2 separate regions of the Homo sapiens genome follow, and region 2 is linked to region 1. Evidence: promoter capture Hi-C in human tissues and cell types (Jung and others, 2019). All regions are on one chromosome and are shown on one strand. The core of a region is centred on a gene start or on the middle of the fragment in contact, and the rest is flanking DNA. Distances in the headings are between cores, read along the strand shown.

Evidence for each region. Contacts are between HindIII fragments. The study calls those that stand out against the background at their distance.
Region 2: a fragment that was not itself captured here is called in contact with the fragment with the promoter of MXRA7 in region 1 in 1 of the 25 tissues and cell types used here (mesendoderm cells).

The regions. Positions count from the first base shown.
Region 1 is chr17:76,706,966-76,714,081 of GRCh38, reverse strand. It overlaps MXRA7 (matrix remodeling associated 7), which reads left to right and starts at 3,117. Exons shown (of 4, transcript NM_198530.4): 1 at 3,117-3,477. The coding sequence starts at 3,136. It also overlaps a transcript of JMJD6 not described here. RefSeq lists a silencer at 2,886-3,095. The HindIII fragment of the contact is 3,325 bases long and covers 1,550-4,874 here.
Region 2 is chr17:76,471,052-76,473,551 of GRCh38, reverse strand. It overlaps RHBDF2 (rhomboid 5 homolog 2), which reads left to right. Exons shown (of 19, transcript NM_001005498.4): 16 at 225-300; 17 at 447-547; 18 at 713-866; 19 at 1,500-2,500. The coding sequence ends at 1,919. Among named protein-coding and RNA genes, the nearest start is that of AANAT, 4.7 kb to the right of the region's middle. RefSeq lists an enhancer at 1-254. The HindIII fragment of the contact is 4,257 bases long and covers 1-2,500 here.

The DNA of each region.
Region 1 (7,116 bases), core at 1,868-4,367:
CATTTTGCTGTATTCTTGCAGCTGTCCGTGTCTTAATAATTCAAGCGTTCAATAGGTGTTTGAGGGCCAGGCACTGCTCTTGAGGTGCTGGAGATAACGGTGACAAGCCCAGGTCCCTGACAAGCTCCACAAGCTTAATGGACAGTGAATGTGCGGCTGTTGCGGCTGTTCACAGGGCCGCTGGTGAGGGCAGGTAGAAGAAAGTGCAGACCTTCTTAAATGCAGGTGTAACGGATCTACATGAAAGAGCATAATTAACACCAATGTATACTTAAGGTAGTAACAGCTTCTTCATAAAGTAGCAAAACTAAGGATCTGTGGGAAGGTTGCTGGTGCAAATGCTTTATAAGCTTACTAGAGACTGAGCCTTGGATTTAGGACTTTAGACGAGTATAGGATGGAACAAAATTTTTGCAGTAAATGTAAAAAATGCTGTGTAGGAGGAAGGCGTATAAGGATGCCCCAGCTGTAGGTTCTTTAGATTGTCTGTAGTATTTCCACGAGTAAGTTGTTTTTGATGTGTGTACTGGTATTGCTGGTAGATTTGAAGTGGAGTCTGGCGGCTTCTTCCACACTCCCCTCCCACTAGCTTGTGTCAAGATGTGACATCCTATGCAGCAAAACTAGGTGAGCTTGCACCCCCAGGCGGTGGCTCTCAACTTTGTCTCATTGTTCAGAAATTTCGGCCAGGCGCCGTAGCTCACCCCTGTAATCCCAGCACTTTGGGAGGCCATGGCAGGTGGATCACTTGAGGTCAGGAGTTCAAGACCAGCCTGGCCAACACGGTGAAACCCCGTCTCTACTAAAAATACAAAAATTAGCCAGGTGTGGTGGCACATGCCTGTAGTCCCAGCTACTTGGTCAACTCAGGCAGGAGAATCACTTGAACCCAGGAGGCAGAGGTTGCAGTGAGCTGAGATCAAGCCACTCCAGCCTGGGTGACAGACCGAGACTCTGTCTTTAAAAAAAAAGAAATGTCATCTAAGCCCCAGTGAACCTCCTGGGAGGAGAGCTAGCCCTGGCCAGCTGTCTCCAAAGTGACTGGATGCTACAGAAGAACTGGGACTGTCTTCTGCACACTCGTGCCTCCTGGAGTTGTCAGAACACTGAGCAGTCTCCTAGTTCTGCGTCCGTCTAGCCATGGGGTCTGCCATGAAAGCCTGTGGATCTGCTATTGGGTTGGTATTTTAAACTTTCACTTGGGTGAAACTTGTTCATCATTTTAAATAAAGCAACATGATTTGGAGTTGTGTTTTTGGCATTGTTTTGTCCTTATTTTCTTTCTTACTCATTTGAAAGTCAACAATGTACTTTGTCAGCAGAACAGGACTTTAAAAAAATGTATTTACACTTTAAAACAATGGGATGGAGCACAAAATTAAGGCCCTGGGCCAGGAGCATTGATGCACACCTGTAATCCCAGCTGCCCAAGAGGCTAAGGCAGGAGGATCACTTGAGCCCAGGATGTCGAGGCTGCAGAAAGCTATGATCATGCCTGTGAATAGCCACTGCACTCCAGCCTGGGCAACATAGTGAGACCCTGTCTCTTTAAAAAAAAAAAAAGAAAGAAAGACCCTGTCTCTTTAAAAAAAAAAAAAAAAAATTGGCTGGGCGCGGAGGCTCACGCCTGTAATCCCAACACTTTGGGAGGCTGAGGCAGGCAGATTGCCTGAGGTCAGGAGTTCAAGACCAGTCTGGCCAACACGGTGAAACCCTGTCTACTAAAAACAGAAAAAAATTAGCCGGGCATGGTGGTGGGCGCCTGTAATCCCAGCTACTCAGGAGGCTGAGGTGGGAGTTTCGCTTGAACCCGGGAGGTGGAGGTTGCAGTGAGCCGCGATTGCGCCACTGCACTCCAGCCTGGGCAACAGAATAAGACTCCATCTCAAAAGAAAAAAAATAGGCCCATACACTGGCTGAAACTTCCACAGTGGTTAAAAGCTAGTCGCCCGTAGATAAAGCCTATTTCACATTTTATAGTTTATAGGCTCTTTTCATCAACCACCACTAAAAGGAAGTGCATGGCCCGCTTAATATCGTGCAGTGCAGCAGAATTCAGCTCTCCCTGTTGCTGAGGGGTCTCGTTTGTGTATCTTCATTTAAAAAGAAGCACTCCATCTAATATCTGGTTTATATCACAGATCAGCTCAGGCACTGTAATATTCCCAAAAAAGTATTAAAGGCATCCTCAGCAAAAACTGGAACCGTGTTTTTTTTAACATTAGGCCTTATGTTTGGCGTGATACCTGACATGCCCGTCCTGTGTTTATTTAAAATAACTAAAGAGTGGGTGGGGAGTGGTAGGAAAGTATGTTTTTGGTTACAACGTGTTTATCTCAAAATCCACTGTTCAGCAACAGAGGCCTGGGAGGATCTGGAGAAACAAAAACAATAGCCTTCATTTCCTTCATTGTACCCTCCCACCCTGCATGCATTCTGGAATTGTGCAAAGAAGAAAGTCTGGTAAGAGGAATAGCGTTGACCAAGGACCTGCAGCTGAATTTCAGGTCTAGGGGCGGGGGAGCCATGTTACTGTTAACAGGGAGGCCTGTGTTGAAGGCTGCTGGCCTCAGCTCCGAAGGGAGCATTCACTGGCCGGGATCTGGAGATGTCCTCTGTGAAAGTGCATTAAGGCAACCCTGAGGATTAAAAGCAACTCCTGACATGCCTATAAAAACGGCAGTGGCTGAACGTAATCCGGCATTATGATTGCTTTACAAGCCAATCCAGGCTGCCGTTTCCATGAAGCTTCCCGGGTTTGCTTGTCTCTCTGCATTCCCACATTTCCAAAATGCTCTAAGACGAACCGCCGTACTAAGGCCAAAGATGACAACCTAAGGGCACCTCATACAGTATTTCAAATTGAACCTGAGCTAAATTGTGCCCCAAAGCGTCAAGGCTGCCCAGGCCGGGCAGGGGTTGGCCCTCCTGTGCCTCCCAGGTGGTCAGGGCTCTGCCCCCTCAACACCCCCGCCCGCAGCCTGTGCGTCACCCTCCCGGGGCCGGAGGGGGCGGGGGCGGGGCGCGGCGATGGGGGCTCCGCCCCGAGGCGGGGCGCGGCGACCGGGCGCGGCGACGGGGCGCGGCGGGCTCCCTCGGGGTCCCAGCTGGCCCGCACTCGGCGGCCGCGGCGCGATGGAGGCGCCGGCCGAGCTACTGGCCGCGCTGCCTGCGCTGGCCACCGCGCTGGCCCTTCTGCTCGCCTGGCTACTGGTGCGGCGTGGGGCGGCCGCGAGCCCGGAGCCTGCCCGCGCGCCCCCGGAACCCGCGCCCCCGGCCGAGGCCACCGGGGCCCCGGCGCCGTCCCGCCCCTGCGCCCCCGAGCCGGCGGCCTCGCCCGCGGGGCCGGAGGAGCCTGGAGAGCCCGCGGGGCTGGGGGAGCTCGGGGAGCCTGCGGGACCGGGGGAGCCCGAAGGGCCAGGGGATCCCGCGGCGGCGCCAGCGGAGGCGGAGGAGCAGGCGGTGGAGGCGAGGCAGGTACGCACCGGGGCCCTCGCGGCCCCCTCCCCACCCCCGGGGCTCCGGCTGCCGCTGCCGTTCCCCGCCGAGCCAGGGAGCGGGGCCGCGGCCTCCAGCCCAGGCTGCCCCCAGGAAGCGCAGAACCCGCGGCCCGCAGGAAATGCAGGTCCCGCCATGCTAAGCCGCAGCCCCGCAAACTCGCCGCCCTCCCCCAGAAAGTGTGGCGAGGGGCGAGCCCGAAGGAGTTTGTTTGGAGGTGTTTTGCTCTCCCCTCCCCTCGGCCTCTCCCAGCCCAGGGCGTGCTCCGCAGCTGCTGGCTCCCAGGCCTCGGGACCAGGGCTTGGAATTTTGCTCCTCACCCACTTCTGACCCCTCCCGCCCACCGGTTCCCAAATCCACGTGCCTGTGGCTTATTTCCAGGCCTGCCATGAGAGTTATCTTGATGTTTAAAAAGTAGGACTTTCGGGGGGCGAGGGAGGAAAGCTGGCTTTTCTTTTTCAGCCAATTTGAAGTCCAGATTTCAGAGTCAGTGCTGTGGCGTTTTGTGAAGCCCGTGGGCTGGGACTGAAAGAAAAGGCACCCGATCCCAGCAGTCCTTTTTATTGTCGTTTTCAAGCTACACATCTAACACCCTCCTACCCCCACTCCCCCGGGTTGTAGGTAAGCTGGGCCTGGATGGAGTGAAGATGCAGGATAAAGCCCTCCTGGAGCACCAGTGAGCACCCCAAAGCGGCCCTCCCTGCCTCTGCCCCAGGCCTCCCGCCATGCTGTCCATCAGCTCGGCCTTGGCCACCTTGTCCTGCCTGTGGATATCTGAGAGGAGTCGGATTTCCCTCATCCACTCATCCCAGCCCCTACACTGTGTGCCCATGTTCCCTGGAGTTCACCACGCTTGGCCGGTCCAGGCCACCGCCAGGGTCTCCGAGTCGGATTGTAATCCCTTGTTCTTACCCCTGAGCTCCTTTTCTTGGAAGGGAGGAGAGCCGGGATGCGCATTGTCAGCGTGCCTGCGTGTCTGCGTGCCCACTCTGTCCTGTGCTGGACACAATGGTTTACCCTGGAGAGAAGCCCTTCGGGGGAGGAGGAGGCAGCCAGGCTGTGCTCAGAGGCATTTCTCTTTGCTGAGTAAGTGCGCCAGACCCCCTCTGAGCAGGCGCTTTGCTTGACAAGTGGGTGACTAATTGTGTCATTAGAGAGGATTCTAACCAGCCACATTTAATGGGGTGGAGCAGGGGCAGGCCCTGCCGTTCTTGCTTGGGGTGGGCTTCCAGACCTCACGCGGTGATGGTGGAGGGGGCGCGGTTTGGACATGTGCTGATCTGTTGTGTTTGCTCCCATATTTGGGATTCCTGCCTCCATCGAGGTCTCGCGGGAGCAGGAGAGGCCTTTAGACAGTTCTGGAGCCGTCATGCACACTCAGTCAGTCCTGGCCTTACAGGGCTGGCCCTTTATCACCCACACCAGGCTCTGGACTGAAGTGCAAAATGTCCTTTAGCGGCGCCCTGTCTTAGCTCAATCCTGTGGGGCACAGCGCTTAAAGAACTTTCTACAAGGCTTTCGGCTCTCAGCACATGGTACCTACAGGAATAGGTTCAGTGGTGTTTAAATAGGGCCACTCGCATAATTTGCCACTGTCTGGGTGAATGCACGTCCTCTGAAGCTGAATGGGTGCTCTGAAGGACAAGGCAGTATGGGGGTTCGCGTGCCAGGCAGCCCCCATGACATAGGTGCCAGTGAGGATGACTTGAGGCTTGTGTCTGTCCTCCCGCTAAGGCACCCTCCAGAGAGAACCCACCCCACAGGAGAATTCAATTGAAGTCAGTGCCCTTCCCCTTTGGGTTCAAGTCCCCAGGCCTTCCTGAGCTGGCCAAAGCTCCCCCAAAACTCCTGCCTGCAAACATTAAGCCAGGTGCTGTGGGGACACAGATATTGTGTCATCCCACCCACTCCCAGTGGTGGCATTAACCTAAGAAGCTGCTTAGAAATTGTCTTGATGAGCTTCGAGTCAGTGACAAGAAAAAAAAGAAAGGAAAACAAATTGTCCTGAAGTGGACTCCAGCGTTTCCAAGAGCTTCCAGTGCTTTCTTCTGATGATCACACTGCTGGGGCTTGGAGGACAGATAGGGAGAAAGGCCCCCTGGGGAAGATAACTCAAATCAGGGTTGGGAAGTGGGGCTATGCCCTCTGCCAGCCTCCTTCTCCCTCCGTCCCTAAGCGAACCCCACCAACAGCGAGGGAGGAGGGCAACTCCACCTGCTGTTAGCTCGGAAGTCACTGCCCTGGGGAGCAGCGTGTAACTCACCTCTCCCCTCCCTCTTCATTTTCCATTAACTGCCTCCTTTCTAATCCAGTCCTCTCCCTTCCCAGGGAGGCCTGGGCGGGCTGGGGCAGCTGCTGCCTCTGACTACAAAGCTGATTATTGAGAAGGATCTCTCGCCCCGGGAAGCAGCCTTCAGCTGCTATTGGGGATCGCTCAGGAGCGTCCCCTAGTGCACGGTGCCCTCTTTGGCCAAGGACAAAGTAGTGGGGAGGGGCTACTATAGGCCGAGACCCTGGAAATGGACCAAAGAAATGGGGATGAGATCAGTGCAGCTCTTGCTTCCCCAGGGCAGCACAGGCCAGGGCAGGGAGGCTGAGGAGAAGCGGAATGATACTGCTAGAACCTCTTTTCTCTCCTAAGGATTAGCACAGGGTGGGCTGTGAGGAAGCATTATAGGCAAGGCCTGTTCACGCAAAGAATCATGAGCCAACGAAGTCAAGAACAGGAGCCGGCCTCTTTTCAGGCCAGGACTCAGGGCTTTCTTGGTGCTCCTGTGTAGGTTGGGGTTTTAGGATTGCCAGGCCTCTTACCTAATGGACTTGTGGATTGGAGCAAGGCTGGATGGTCGGATTCCCAAACATTGGTAATTGGCAAAGCGTCAAGGGTCATTTGAATAGCACTAGAGTTAAATTTCTTGTCTGTGCCAGGACTCAAGTATCTCGGTACTTGGGGCCTAGCTCTGCTCATAGACAGACTAGAGCCCGGGCGCGATGGCTCACACCTGTAATCCCAGCACTTTGGGAGGCCGAGGCAGGAGGATCACCTGAGGTCAGGAGTTCGAGACCAACCTGGCCAACATGGCGAAACCCCGTCTCTACTAAAAATACAGAAATTAGCCAGGCATGGTGGCGTGCACGTCATCCCATCTACTCAGGAAACTGAGGCAGGAGAATCACTTGAACCCAGGAGGCTGAGGTTGCAGTTGAGCCAAGATCGTGCCACTGCACTTCAGCCTGGGCAACAGAACGAGACTCCATCTCAAAAAAAAAAAAAAAAAAAAAAAAAAAAAAAGAGTAGGGACTTCCTGCAAGGCAGTGGGCCGGTGTCATGAAGCACACAGAGACTCTTCTAGATTTAATTGGGATTTAGGAGATTAAAGCAATATGACAAATAAATACAATCTTGATCCTTGATTGGATTCTCCATCAGAGAAGGGAGCTATAAAGGACATACTGGAGATAATTGAGACATTTTTTAAATGAATGGCTGTGTTAGGTAAGCTTATTGAATCAACGCTGAATTTTTTGTGTACGATACCGGCAGATGGCTGTGTAAACAATGTCCTTATCCTTAGGAAGATGCAGGCTGAAACATTTTGGGATGACATGTCATGATTC
Region 2 (2,500 bases), core at 1-2,500, 240 kb after region 1:
CGCTGGGCCGATGCCCTCCAATAACTGTCCTTTGCTCCCCTGCTCTGGGGCTACCCATGGTGCGAGCTGGAGGAAGGAAGCTTGCTCCAGAGTCGAAGGTTCTGGATGCGGCATCCCCCTTCCTGCCAGCGATGCCTCCTGTAGCCAGGTGCTGGGCTCTGGGCAAAGGTGGGCAGTGGTTATTCGGCGCCCTGATGTCCCCTCTTGCCTCACCACCCCCTTAGCTGTGAGATCACCACCCGGGAATACTGTGAGTTCATGCACGGCTATTTCCATGAGGAAGCAACACTCTGCTCCCAGGTGAGGCGAGGCAGGCCTGGAGTAGTGGAGGAGAGGACGCTGGGCATGGCAGCCTGCTGGGGCCGGGGCTCACGCACTCCCTCCCATGTCGGAGCCTCAGACTCAGCCTGCTTCTGGGGCGCTGAGCACCATATGCCCACTCCCAGGTGCACTGCTTGGACAAGGTGTGTGGGCTGCTGCCCTTCCTCAACCCTGAGGTCCCAGATCAGTTCTACAGGCTCTGGCTGTCTCTCTTCCTACATGCTGGGTAAGAGGCTCCTCACTGCCCCCGAACCCGACCCCTGTGATGGCCACCCAGCCGGACCCCTGGGGAAAGGTTCCTGGGCCAGGGCATGGCCGGCCCAACCTGCCGAAGCCTACTGCTCCTGAAGTGCCTGGCTGAAGGCCGCTGCCTGGTGTGTCCCTCCCCCAGCGTGGTGCACTGCCTCGTGTCTGTGGTCTTTCAAATGACCATCCTGAGGGACCTGGAGAAGCTGGCCGGCTGGCACCGTATCGCCATCATCTTCATCCTCAGTGGCATCACAGGCAACCTCGCCAGTGCCATCTTTCTCCCATACCGGGCAGAGGTAAGGATGTGGAGGATGGGACCCCTTCCGCACATAGGGGGCCAGCCCTGCTGCTCCTATTCCACCCACCTGGGATCTGCCAGAGGGACACGGTGCCCCTCCTGTACTGGGCTCCACAGCGGAGGGACAGCTAATCTGGGGGCTTACTGGCTGGTCTCTTAATCCCAGTGAGAGGGAACAGTGATGCTCTTGAGTCACCCTGTCCCTCCACCGCCTCATTTATCTTCCTAACCGTGCCCACTGCCTGACAGTATGCTAGGTATCTGCAGGTCGAGCGGTAGGAAATGGCCTCCGTGCGCCGTCGGCAGTCTGATCAGTTCCACCTGACTGATCTAGTTTGTTCAGTGTCCGTCCTCTCCCCACCGTGTGCGGCCTGGAACAGGCTTGTCTGTCTTGCTTATTGCTACGGACCCACACCAGGCACGTACACAGTAGGCGCTCAGTGTTTGCTGAAAGAATGGGCGGAGCAGGCCCAGCTTTGGTCCAGCAGCTCCAGCCGACCCCCTGCCCCTCAGCCTCAGGGGTCCCCATGCCTGCCAGGGAGGAGCTGATCGATGGGATGACCCAGGGTGCAGGCCCGGCCCAGGCCACCCACCTGATGCCTGAAGCCACGTCTCCCCTGCCCCGCCCCAGGTGGGCCCGGCCGGCTCACAGTTCGGCCTCCTCGCCTGCCTCTTCGTGGAGCTCTTCCAGAGCTGGCCGCTGCTGGAGAGGCCCTGGAAGGCCTTCCTCAACCTCTCGGCCATCGTGCTCTTCCTGTTCATCTGTGGCCTCCTGCCCTGGATCGACAACATCGCCCACATCTTCGGCTTCCTCAGTGGCCTGCTGCTGGCCTTCGCCTTCCTGCCCTACATCACCTTCGGCACCAGCGACAAGTACCGCAAGCGGGCACTCATCCTGGTGTCACTGCTGGCCTTTGCCGGCCTCTTCGCCGCCCTCGTGCTGTGGCTGTACATCTACCCCATTAACTGGCCCTGGATCGAGCACCTCACCTGCTTCCCCTTCACCAGCCGCTTCTGCGAGAAGTATGAGCTGGACCAGGTGCTGCACTGACCGCTGGGCCACACGGCTGCCCCTCAGCCCTGCTGGAACAGGGTCTGCCTGCGAGGGCTGCCCTCTGCAGAGCGCTCTCTGTGTGCCAGAGAGCCAGAGACCCAAGACAGGGCCCGGGCTCTGGACCTGGGTGCCCCCCTGCCAGGCGAGGCTGACTCCGCGTGAGATGGTTGGTTAAGGCGGGGTTTTTCTGGGGCGTGAGGCCTGTGAGATCCTGACCCAAGCTCAGGCACACCCAAGGCACCTGCCTCTCTGAGTCTTGGGTCTCAGTTCCTAATATCCCGCTCCTTGCTGAGACCATCTCCTGGGGCAGGGTCCTTTTCTTCCCAGGTCCTCAGCGCTGCCTCTGCTGGTGCCTTCTCCCCCACTACTACTGGAGCGTGCCCTTGCTGGGGACGTGGCTGTGCCCTCAGTTGCCCCCAGGGCTGGGTGCCCACCATGCCCCTTCCTCTTTCTCCTCCTACCTCTGCCCTGTGAGCCCATCCATAAGGCTCTCAGATGGGACATTGTGGGAAAGGCTTTGGCCATGGTCTGGGGGCAGAGAACAAGGGGGGAGACACAAGTAGACCTCAGGTAGAACG